2 separate regions of the Homo sapiens genome follow, and region 1 is linked to region 2. Evidence: promoter capture Hi-C in 16 types of primary human blood cells and fetal thymus (Javierre and others, 2016). All regions are on one chromosome and are shown on one strand. The core of a region is centred on a gene start or on the middle of the fragment in contact, and the rest is flanking DNA. Distances in the headings are between cores, read along the strand shown. Region 1 holds the start of MLF1 (myeloid leukemia factor 1). Region 2 holds the start of SHOX2 (SHOX homeobox 2).

Region 1 (5,760 bases), core at 621-3,120, 460 kb before region 2:
CAATTATGTGAACATAATTCTCACCATAAGTTTCACCGAGATGGTAGTTATGTCACCTGCAAAGCCCTTGAAGCTGCAAAGGCCAACTCTGCACACAGGAAGCCATGACGGGCACCCAAAGTCCGGCCAAATGGAAAGCAGCAGGCACCCCGGGAGTGTGAGGAAGGGCCTTCTTTCCATCTCATGCAGCCAAATCCTCCTCCCCCTACCTGGGGCCCTCAACTCTCTACCTCACGTCCTCAACCATCCTCCTGCGACCTCACGCCCCCAAACCCTCCTCCCCCCACTGCACGCCATCAACTCTCCTCTGTCCACCTCACACCCTCAACCCTCCTACCCCCACACCTCATGCCCCTAAACCCTCTTCCCCACACCTCATGCCCCCAAACCCTCCTCCCTCCACCTCACGCCCCAACCCTCCCTCGTCCCACTACCTCTCACCCTCAAACCTCTTCCCCCTACCTCACGCCCTCAACCCTCCTCCCACATCATGCTCTCAAGCCCTTCCCACCAACTCACGCCCTCAACCCTTCTCCCCAACCCTCCTCCCACACCTCATGCCCCCAAATCCTCCTCAGCCCCTAAATCCTCCTCCATCCACCTCACACCCTCAACCCTCTTACCGCCACCTCACGCTCCCAAACCATCCCCACCAACTCATGCCCTCAATCCTCCCCTGCACTTCATACTCCCAAACCCTCCCCACCAACTCACGCCCTCAACCCTCGTCCCTGCACTTCAAGCTCTTAACTCTCCCCTGCACCTCATGCTCCCAAACCGTCCCCCCACCTCACGCCCTCAACCCTCCTCCCCCCACCTCGCGGTCCAAAACCCTCCTTCCCCTCACCTCACACCCTCAACCCTCCCCCACACCTCATGCTCCCAAATCCTCCTCCCACCTCACGTCCTCAACCCTCCTCCTACACCTCACACCTTCAACTCTCCCCCACACCTCATGCTCCCAAACCCTCCCCCCACCTCACGCCCTCAACCCTCCTCCAAACGCCTCACACCCCCAAATCCTCCTTCGTCCATCTCACACCCTCAACCCTCCCCCCTCCACCTTACTCCCCCAAACCCTCCTCCTCCCACCCCACGCTCCCAAACCCTCCCCCCACCTCACAGCCTCAACCCTCCTCCCCCCACCTCACGCTTTCAAACCCTTCCCCCACCTCACGCCCTCAACCCTTCCCCTCACCTCACGCCCTCAACCCTTCCCCTCACCTCACGCCCTCAACCCTTCCCCTCACCTCACACCCTCAACCCTTCCCCTCACCTCACGCCCTCAACCCTCCTCCCTCCCACCTCATGCTCCCAAACCCTTCCCTCACCTCACGCCCTCAACCTCTTCTCCCCACCTCATGCCCTCAATTCTCCTCCCCCCACCTCCCGGCCTCAACTCTTCTCCCCCCACTCCCAGCCTTAACTCTCCTCCCCACACCTCACGCCCCCAAACTTCCCTCCGCCTACCTCACGCGTCCAAACCCTCCTCTCTCCACCTCATGCGCCCAAATCCGTCTCTTCCCTGTCTCACACACCCCTAAATCCTCCTCTCTCTTCCCTCCCAGGCCTCCAAATCCTCGTCTCCTTCAAACCGCCTCCAGAGTTACTCCGAATTCTCTCTCGCCCTCTAAAACTCGCTCTTTTCCCTTAAAATAGCTCCCCTCGATACCTTAATTCCCGCGCGACCCCGGACTCCTGGCTCCCGTAACTCACGAGAAGAAGGGGTCATCCTCAAAACTGCTGTTCAGCATCCTGAACATTCTGGCTCTGTCTTGGGTGGCGGCAGCCGCGGACAGATTGGAAAAACGATGTTAACTCGCCGCGGCCGCGACAAGAGCTAGCCTCCAGTACGGACGACGCCTCACTCGCCGCGGCGCAGGCGGTGCCCGCCGGGATAGGAGGTGCGTGACACCGAGCTGCTTTCCCATTGGACATTGCTCTGTGACGTCACCAGGACGAGGCGGGGAGCAATGCGCCGCTGCCCTGGCAACCGCAATCAACACAGTGGAGGCGAGAAGTCTGGCCTTGCGCCGGCCGGGGAGCTTTTCGCCAAGGCTCCTGTGGGATGGGATAGCTTGTTCTCTGGGCTGCAGGAACCAAAACATTAGACCACCCTTTCTGTGACCTTGGGCATGCCGCCCTCGGTTCCGAGCCGCAAGTCTTTCTTTCGGGGAAAATGAAAAGGGGTCAAGATTTGGACCAGATGACACCCAATGTCCCATTCAACGGTCGCATTCTGTCATCCACAGGAATTAGTCCTGTATCCGAAACATTCTCTGGTAGTCAAAAGCTGTGAGCAAATAATAAGAAAAAATGTGCAAAACGTTTTTTAGTACAGTTAGCAAATAGTGTACTCAGTTGTTGAAGGAAATGGGATGAAGCCTATCAGATTTCAACAAACTTATTTACCTCTTGAGAAAGCTGCTCTCTTTTCGGTTGTCCTTCTGTGTCTCTCTTTCAAAGATCAAGTCTCACTGCGATGCTGATATGTTTTTAACACTTCTCCAGCATTTCTTAACCTAACAGCAGGTTTCAGGCACAGGCCTGCAGCAAGCAGCCATATCCAACTAAAATTCCACTACTATATGTTTTTATTTGCATTACATTTATCAGGGAGCTTTCTATTTATGGCAAGGAAACTGATTTTAAATTTAAATCAGTGATATACATCAAGAGCTAGATTTTGCATTTTTAAGTGAAAAAGTAAGCTATCAAATAGAACAGGTGGAATTTGGATATGGTGGGGCGGAGGGGTAGGCAGAGCAGGGGAGAGGAACATCGTGATAGTGGTACTCAAATTACTAAGTTTTAGAAAACACTATCACGGGGCCTTTCAGGAGCCTGGAGACAGATGGAGGGGAAGACAGAAGAGAGATTAAGGAGAAGAATGGTAAGAGTATAAGAAAAGAGAAAATACATCTTGCATGTCCACCCTTAATTCAGTGAGCTCCCCAGCTTCTCTACGTGGCTGTCTTGCAGAGATAAAGGGGCGTCCATAGCTCATCAGGGCCCCCTGGGATCAGGCCAGAGGGGTGGCACTTTGCCAGCATGAAGAAGTGTGCAAGCCCTGATTTGGAGGTGACAGGAGTAGTCAGGGGTTATTTTGAGAGCTGGAAATTTAATCGTTTGGATCTTTTACTCCCCATCCCCCTTTTTTAGCCAAGTTCTCTGGCAGCTTCCTTCCCCTGAGACTGGTGGCATGGGGTAGGGCAGACTTCACAGCCCAAGATGAGATGGCACAGCCCATCCAGGAAAGAGGATATTTTCTTTTCCTCTGGACTCAGAATAAAGCTCAGAGAACATATACACAAAATTTCGAAAATTTCTAAATAAATTTCAAGGCAAACAAAATTGTTTTATAAGACCTTAAATTGTTTTTCTCTTTAAAATAGTATAAGCACAAGATGTGAAGGAGGCCACACTTAAAAAAAAACTTGAAATGGAGTAAGTTATGTGATAAAAGATGGTGTTAAAATAGTTCTGGATTAAGGCCAAGTAAATTTGTAATGTTACCCTCTAGTTTCTGTGGGAACTTTTTTAGAATCACATTGTTATAAAAGCTTTAGTCCAGGCACAGGTTAGTCAGGGAATTAGCTGAACCTTGTGAAAGCAGTTTGGATCTAATGACAAATGCAAAAAAAAAAAAAAAGGAGGGCAGAGCAGAGTTGGCACTGAAGAGACCTTGACATCATTTTCAGAACTGATGGGTAAGAGGTGGAAATGAAAGAAAGCGTGGGTCAGGAGAGAATGAATACTCCAGCATGGGAGGAATAGAGATGCAGAACAGGACTGAGAGGAGAGGGTCCTGGACTTGGCTGTAAATATAATCATAATAGCTAATATTTATTGAATGTGTGCCAGGCACTGTTGTAGGCACTCCATATGCATTACCTCATTGAATCCTCATTAGCAGTTTTATGGAGTAGAGATGGCTTTTATCCCCATGTATAGATGATGCATTCAAGACACAGAGAAGCTGAATAAATTGCCAAGGTTCACACAGCTAGTAATTGAACTGAGCTGGGTACCTGGAGCTTTCCTCTGTGAGTGCTGGTTATATGGTATGTGAGTGATGAGTCATACTTAAAGATGCAGGATGAAAGCGGGTAATCATTTTTCAAAATCATGCTGACAAGCTAAATGGACCCAAACTAAAAAGTACAAAATTCAGTGGGAATATATTCACATCACATAAATTCAATTCTACAAATATTTATTGAGTGACTACCCAGTGTTGGGGACTGATCTACGACCTTAGGCATCATTGAACAAAACGGACAAAAATCTCTGCCTTCCCGGAGTTTATGTTCTTGTAAGGACAGACTCAAAATAAACAAAATAGAAAATAGTATATTGTAAGGTGATAAGTGTTAGGGAGAAAAGCTGATCAGGGTAAGGAGTATGGAGAGGTGCAATTATAAATAGCAAGTTTTGTGTACGCCTCACTAAGGGGAATTTGAGCAAAGACCCACAGGAAGGAAGTGGATGTCTAGTGGAAAAGCATTCCAGGGCAGTGCTAAAGTAGCATTTGCCTGGTGTATATAATGTACAGTCCTACTCATATGCCTTAAAACTCACCTTCTGAGTGAGGAATGAGATGAGCCAAGTAAACTGAAAATTGCCTAATAGGGTAATAGCTCTCATTTACACTTCATATATTCCAAGGATTGCACTAAGTGCTTCACATATGTTTTCTCGTTTAACCTTTACAGCAACCATGTCTAATATTATGTTTATCCCTAAATTGCATTAAAAAAAGCTGGGACCCAGATAAATTTGATAATTGAATTTTGATAATTGATTTGAAAGTTGATAATTTGATTAAATTTTGATGATTGAAATTTGATGTCACTCAATTCAAACCCAGATTTGTCTTACCCCAAAGCCTGTATCCTCACCACCATCCGTACTTTGCCTCCCTATTTTAAAAATTAACTATTTATGGAGCAAATATTTGCAGTAAACACTTTTACATCTATAATCTGTAACTACACTGTTGCTTAGGTTTCATTTGGAAGGACACTGACTAAGGAAAAACAGAGAAAAGGATGAAACCCAAGCCAACTCTGCAACTCTATTAAAAACACCAAGACTTCAATATGTAAGTGATTTCGTGTTTCTTTCATTAATTTATCAAATACTTATTAAGGACTAGTAATATCCCAGACATTATTCTAGACACTGAGGTTACAAAACTCCCTGGCCTTTCGGAACTTACATCCTAGTGGACAACTCTTTCCCCAGCTAATTTTACAAATACTGTTACAGCACCTCAGAATTTTCATAATGTTTCTGAAGACATTATCTCAAGTGCCCAAAAGAAAATAAACAGGCTCTTGAGTGCTGAACTTTTAACTTAATTATAGCTTTCCAGAGCCGTGAATATTAGGCCATTACAAACACCTTTACCACAATTAAGCTCAATGTGTCTAGGGTTTCGTTGTCCTAATCCCTTTGTCTTAAACAGTGCACAGAGGTCCTCTGAGAATGAGATGCCATAGCAAACTCACAAGGGGCTATGGGACAAATTTTGAGAGAAACTTGGCATGTGTTAGACATTGTTCAATGTACTAGTTTAGGGCAGTTCACATATTTCAATATTAGATTGCACTACATTGTTTTAGATGATGTCATATCATTGGAAAGGTAGGTTTCTGAAAGTTACTATGATGAAAATGAAGTACCTGTCAATGTGGAACAGGAAAGATTGGTGGCAACATTCAGTCTGTTTCTAAAGTTTGAAAAATTGTGCTGTGC
Region 2 (5,901 bases), core at 1,113-3,612:
GTCATCTTTCCCTCAAGCTCAGTAGATGAAATATGACTTCAAACCTAAAAGTCATGTACTTAAAAAGGCAAACAAGTAGCTGGTGGGTCTCCTGATTCCTTAACCGACTTCTAACAGTGGTTATTTTTGAGTTATTTGTGAATATGTATTTAACACCTCAGTTTGAGAGCACCTTGAGCACCGTATCCTCTTAGCTCTCCCTATTACTGGCCCTTCTGCTAAATAATCTTAAAAACAGATTTTCATAAAGGACTAAAGTTGTATGATTATTTTCCTCTGATAATATCAGAAAGTAGTTACAAAGAGTAACCCAAGACTCAATGTGAAATTGTTTCTAAATTCGTATAACTTTGAAACTTTGTCCCTTTTGTGGTGTAACAAAACAAAAGCAAGTACTGATAACAATGTATTCATACCTAAAAGCTATAGCTGCGGAAAAATTATAGACATTAGCTCTCCTAAAAGTGGCAAAAAATGAAATGTTTTAAAAAGGGAAAACAACGTTTCTAAAAAGCATGATATACATAATCCTTAAACTCACCAAACATGAACATTTTAATGTGAGTATTGTAGTATAACATAAGGTTATATCCAGCTTCTATCTACATCTATTTGAGAAACACTAATATATTAAGTTATAATTGTGTTCTCTTTTTGCAAGTGTTTCAGGTTGTTTTGACGGAACTTCTTAAATTATCTGCTAATTTGTTTTGATGCCTTAACCAATATACGGAAGATATACATATTAATGTTCTGTAATTCCTCTTATTTTTACTAAGAGTATTAGATCCAAAATAATGATCAAGTTACCTTTAACTTCCAGAAAGTCTGCATTAATATTCAGAGTACTTGAAAATGTCCCCTAAGCCACACTTAGAGGTATATTTGTTTACACACTTAAATATAACATCATATGTAAATATTCTTTTGTGAGTATGTATTTGCATAGCCACACTTCTCACAGCAAGCCCTGTCCGGCACAATACAGACAAATGACTCAGGAATATAGATGTTCCTCTAACGTAACAAACCGTTCCGATGAAAATAGCCCAGAAATAGAATTTTAAATCGTAAGCGGGGTGGTGGGGGGGGTAGGCAGAGAGACCTTTACTCCTGGCGAGCGTCTCTTTTTTAGCTCTCCGTAATAAATGAAATTAGAGGGGGTACAAACTTAACGTCGATTTTTTTTTCAGACTCGAAGAGGGATAATCTCTTGTTTTTCAAATTAGTAAATAAACTCGGATGTTTCCCAAGATGCTAAAGAAGAAGTCCTGTAATTCACCATAGAGGGGTCCGAGTGCAGAGAGTAAGGGAGAAGGGTGGGAGTTCTGAGACCTCAGAGAGGAAACGAACGAAGTCGAGCTGTCCTTGACCGGGCGCTAAGGAAACACTTTAAAATGAGATCTGTCAGCTAACAGCTGCTGGGGAAACTTGTTAAATCGACTGGTCCCTTTTAGCGGGGTCTGTCCATAGAGGAGTCAGCTGGGCTCCAGGACACGAATAATAGAGCGAATAACACGGACCGAGGGGCGAGGAGCTTGGAGAAGACCCGGACTCAGCCTGCCTGCGAGCCGGGAAGCTCCTAAGAGAAGCTGCGCGGGTCGGAGAAGGTGCAGGCAACCCTGTCTCTGGGCAGGATGATGCTGGGCGGTGGAGCTACGGCCGGCAGGGGTGGGATTGTGAGGGAGAGGCGGGGATGCAGAATTGGGATGCGGGGTCAGGATGCGGGAATGGGATGCGGGGCCTGTAAACTGCTGGGCGGTTGATGCAGGGCAGGGACGAGGAAAAGCAATGCGAAGCTGAGCATTGCGAGGCACCCTGACTCGAAGCAAGGCTGTAGGGAAGGATGCAGTGTCGGGATACCTGACTGACTCTAAGAGCTGCGCACTTGTCAGTTTCCTCTTGGCCCCACCCCGCGGGGTCTATCCAGCTCCCCAGTGTTTAACTAAGTCGTGACACCAACGCAAAATCCACGCCTAATTAAATTAATTAGGGATTCTTGTCAATCCTGGATTAATGGCCAAGAGCACAGGCGGCAGGGGCTATCTGAAAACCTGAGCGGCCGGGGACCGGCCTTCTCTCCCCGCCCCCTCCGGTCCCCCTGTGCTGCCCTACCACTCCAGCCCCAGCCCGCCCGAACTCCAATCTCTCTCTCTCCTCTTCTCTCTCTCTCTCTCTCTCTCTCTCTCTCTCTCTCTCTCTCTCTCTCTGTTTCTCTCCTTTTCCCCTCCCCAACCCCCGGTAGAGGCGCGACTGCTACCCGGGAAGGGGGCTCACTCCGAGTTGCGAGGGGAGGTAATTTACTCAAAACAAGAGGCCGCCGTTAGGAAGTATAAATAGTGGGACTTCAAGCGCAGCGTCGCTATCAGATCTGAACTCTCCGCAGGAAGAATTGTCAAAGATCTTAACATTGAACAAGCGCGCTCCGGCAGGGAAGCATCAGTTCCCATTTCCCTCCGGCAGCCCCCGCCCCTTCTCTTCTCCTCCTCCTCCTCCCTCTCCTCTTCACCCTTCTCCCCCTCTTCCTCTTCTTCCTCCTCCTCCTCTTCTTACTTCTTTTTCTCCTTCTACTTCTCCTCCTCTTTCTTCTTTCTTCTCCTCTTTTTCTTCTTCTTTCTCCTCCTCCCTCTCCTCCCCCACCTCCTGTCCCATTGATGTGTTATTATTGGGGGGGCTGGAGCAGTAAAAAAAGAAGAAGGAAAAAAAGAGCGGGGCTCTGCTGGCAGAGGTTGAGCGCCGGGCTGACGTGCGGCGGCGATGGAAGAACTTACGGCGTTCGTCTCCAAGTCTTTTGACCAGAAAGTGAAGGAGAAGAAGGAGGCGATCACGTACCGGGAGGTGCTGGAGAGCGGGCCGCTGCGCGGGGCCAAGGAGCCGACCGGCTGCACCGAGGCGGGCCGCGACGACCGCAGCAGCCCGGCAGTCCGGGCGGCCGGCGGAGGCGGCGGCGGAGGAGGCGGAGGCGGCGGCGGAGGAGGCGGAGGAGGTGTAGGAGGAGGAGGAGCAGGCGGAGGAGCTGGAGGAGGGCGCTCTCCCGTCCGGGAGCTGGACATGGGCGCCGCCGAGAGAAGCAGGGAGCCGGGCAGCCCGCGACTGACGGAGGGTAACGACCTGACTGACCCCCGGCAGCGGTTCCCCTTCCCGCCTTCCGGACTCCTCTCGGGCGGGAGAGGACTCCGAGGCCCAGCGGGGAGGGGAGAGGGACACGGAGAGGGCCCTGGACCCCAGCTTTGTCAGCTAGAGTGATAGTGGAAGGGTGGGGGTCCGGTGGTATGCTCGGTCATGGGTGGGGTCCTAGTGTGTTGTGGGGGTGGCGTGGGGGGAAGCGTGTGGGGTTTGTGCGCGCCCTTCCCAGATGTTCCCATTCCACCGAAATGCATTTTTCACCAGCGGGAGGATGGGCCCGCAGCCCGGATGGCCCGCAGGCGGACGTGGAAGTTCGCGGGGCCGGGCTGCAGGAGGGGGTGCTGAACCAGACGGCGGGACTAAAGCTAGCCTCTAGCGCAGAGTTTGCCGGGAGGGAGAAGGGGCAGAGGTGGAAAGCTTAACCCTCCGGTCGCCTAGGTGTTTGGGGCCGCCAAGACCCCTCGAACTCCGCAGAGCCCCTGAATCTTTGGATCTTAGGGGCCAAAACTTCCCATTCTCTTTCAAGGTAGAAGGAAGCCAACGAAAGCTGAGGTCCAGGCTACGCTGCTTCTCCCGGGCGAGGCGTTTCGGTTTCTTGGTGTGTTGGGGGCGGGGGGGGGGGGCGGCGGGGGAGGTGGGGATCTATATTTACACAATTCCTTTAGTGTTTTCAATCACCCAGTACTCGGTTCTCTTAGAGCAAAAATCCTTTGGTGCTAGCTCAGTGTTAGGAAACGTCTTTATCTCAATGGCAGAGCGTTCTATACCAATTCAAAGGAGTTCAACAATAAAATTGATTTGGCACTTGGTGCCTGCAGTAACTGGTGTACTGCCATATTTTTCCAATTAAGAAAATATGTGGCATGCGTGGAATCACATATTTAAGCAAGCAATTAAGTTGTTTATGACACGGTCTGTTCCTGTTTAGATCAGTAATTGGAAATTTGGGGACAAAAATAGAGATTTTATTAAGTCTATGGATCAACTTGAAATTTGGACATCTCCTCGAAGCCCCAAAACTTTGAGTGGCATCCACTGTGTAGATGACATGTAATAGACAAAGCCTTCCCACCTCATTGGCAGAATTTGAAGGGTGTGTTTTCATATTTAAATTTCAATACAATATCAGTAAAAATACTTTGCTATTAAATTGGCCCATAATGTTTACTATAATGTTCCTTCCTAAAGAAAGGACAAATGTCCACAAAACTAACTCTGAGAACTAGAAAATACGGCAATATTTAAGATCACCGTAGCTAGAATGCCCGGCAGGGCCGAGATCTAGCGACTCTTCTTCCTCCAAACCAGCACCAGGTCTTCCTAAATTTGTAAAGTGGTGGAGTTACCGTCAAGGTGCCCAGTGCAGCCTCCCGGCCATGAGTCCACAACTACAGGCCCGAACTACAGGTTCGCCAGCGCGCCTGACGGCGAGGTTCAGGTCTGAACCCCCGGCGGGCGCAGTTCCTGGGATTGTTGATTTCCAAGCTCAGGGCAAGTATTAATTTCTCTGCAGACCGGCTCTTCCGGAAATGATTTTTAACACCCATGCTGGCCTGGATCCTGCGCTGGGAAGAACTGCAAACAGCCTCGACTATCTAAACTCAGCTTTGACTTCTTAAAACCCGGAGTCTCTGATTCGGGCGCAGAGGATAAAGGTTCCAGGGGGATATATATATGGTGGCTGTATATGCTCACACTAGAAGAGCTCCTGTTTTTAAAGGGAGGAGAAGGACAGGAAAGTGGCAACGGATGTGTGCAAACCCAGAGCAGAAAAATTCATATTTTATTAAACATCCGAGCTGCTGGTTGCATGAAAAGGCTTTGAGCAACCAATAGAAACCGAGGATCGCGAATATTCCGCTTGAACCTGTTGATCTCTGTGGGTTAAGCGTTTAGGGTCGAGTCTGCGTTTCCACGAGGGAGGGCGAAGAGAGAACAGAAAGAGCGGTTGCTTTCGCCCGCCACCGGAGGCTGGTTTTCCGCCTCCTGCCTTCTGGCCCGGCTTGGGCGGCGAGCCCTTTGGGCAGCCAACATGGCGTGGGCGCCTGTGCTCGTGCGACCCCGGTCGGGCAGGCGGGACGGAGATTACCTGGCTGTCCAGGGGACCTTATGCAGGGTTTGGCCCGAGCCCAGGGGCAGCGAGGGGCGTCTGCGGATGCGGCTCCCTGTGCGGCACAACACCGGGGTCTGTTGCTCTCGCTGATACCTTTCGGCCCAATTGTTCCTAAATTAGACCAGCAAGTTTGCGGTAGGCAGAGAGCCAGCGGTGGTGAGAGCTGGCCTGAGAACGAGCCAGCCTTCTGGGAATGGCCGGTGTGAGAGGCCAGTGGGTGGCCTTGCCGCGCCCTTATGTCCAGACTTTGCTCTGTGAGAGGCCTGGCGCTGCGCCTTTGATTTCTGTGAGTGCTGCGGAGCAAGTGAGTGCGAAAGTGAGTGGAAACCATTTGGTGTTTGCTGGGGAAGGCCGGTGACTGGGGGGTGAATAGTGAGGCGGTGAGTCGAGGTACGTTTGTGAAGGAGGTGGTGGATGACTGCCCACCTTGCCCCAGGCGGCCGCTCAGACTTGACCTTTGCGCTTCTCCGGGATATTCTTCCTCCGGGTGGGTTGAGAAGCCGGACCAGGATTCCACGAGGGGGAAGGATTCTCTATTCTTTTTTGCGACAAATCTGGTAACAGGATTTGCTGTGCTGTTTTCGTCCGTGTGTGTGTGCGTGTGTGTGTGTGTTCGTGTGGATGCACGTGTGGCCCCGCTGGGGTGCCCCCTCCAGTGTCCC

What was found. Contacts are between HindIII fragments. The CHiCAGO score rates a contact against its expected background, and 5 or more counts as called.
Region 1: a contact is called between the fragment with the promoter of MLF1 here and the fragment with the promoter of SHOX2 in region 2, in 5 of 17 cell types (naive CD8 T cells, erythroblasts, endothelial precursors and 2 more). The highest score is 8.6, in naive CD8 T cells.

The regions. Positions count from the first base shown.
Region 1 is chr3:158,567,304-158,573,063 of GRCh38, reverse strand. MLF1 (myeloid leukemia factor 1) reads right to left here and starts at 1,870. Exons shown (of 8, transcript NM_001369783.1): 1 at 1,717-1,870. The coding sequence starts at 1,763. MLF1-DT (MLF1 divergent transcript) reads left to right here and starts at 1,998. Exons shown (of 5, transcript NR_104147.1): 1 at 1,998-2,893; 2 at 5,008-5,104. The HindIII fragment of the contact is 5,771 bases long and covers 1-3,565 here.
Region 2 is chr3:158,102,881-158,108,781 of GRCh38, reverse strand. SHOX2 (SHOX homeobox 2) reads left to right here and starts at 2,362. Exons shown (of 5, transcript NM_001163678.2): 1 at 2,362-3,103; 2 at 5,896-5,901. The coding sequence starts at 2,758. RefSeq lists enhancers at 1,671-2,174, 5,249-5,856 and a silencer at 2,923-2,972. The HindIII fragment of the contact is 5,227 bases long and covers 1-3,545 here.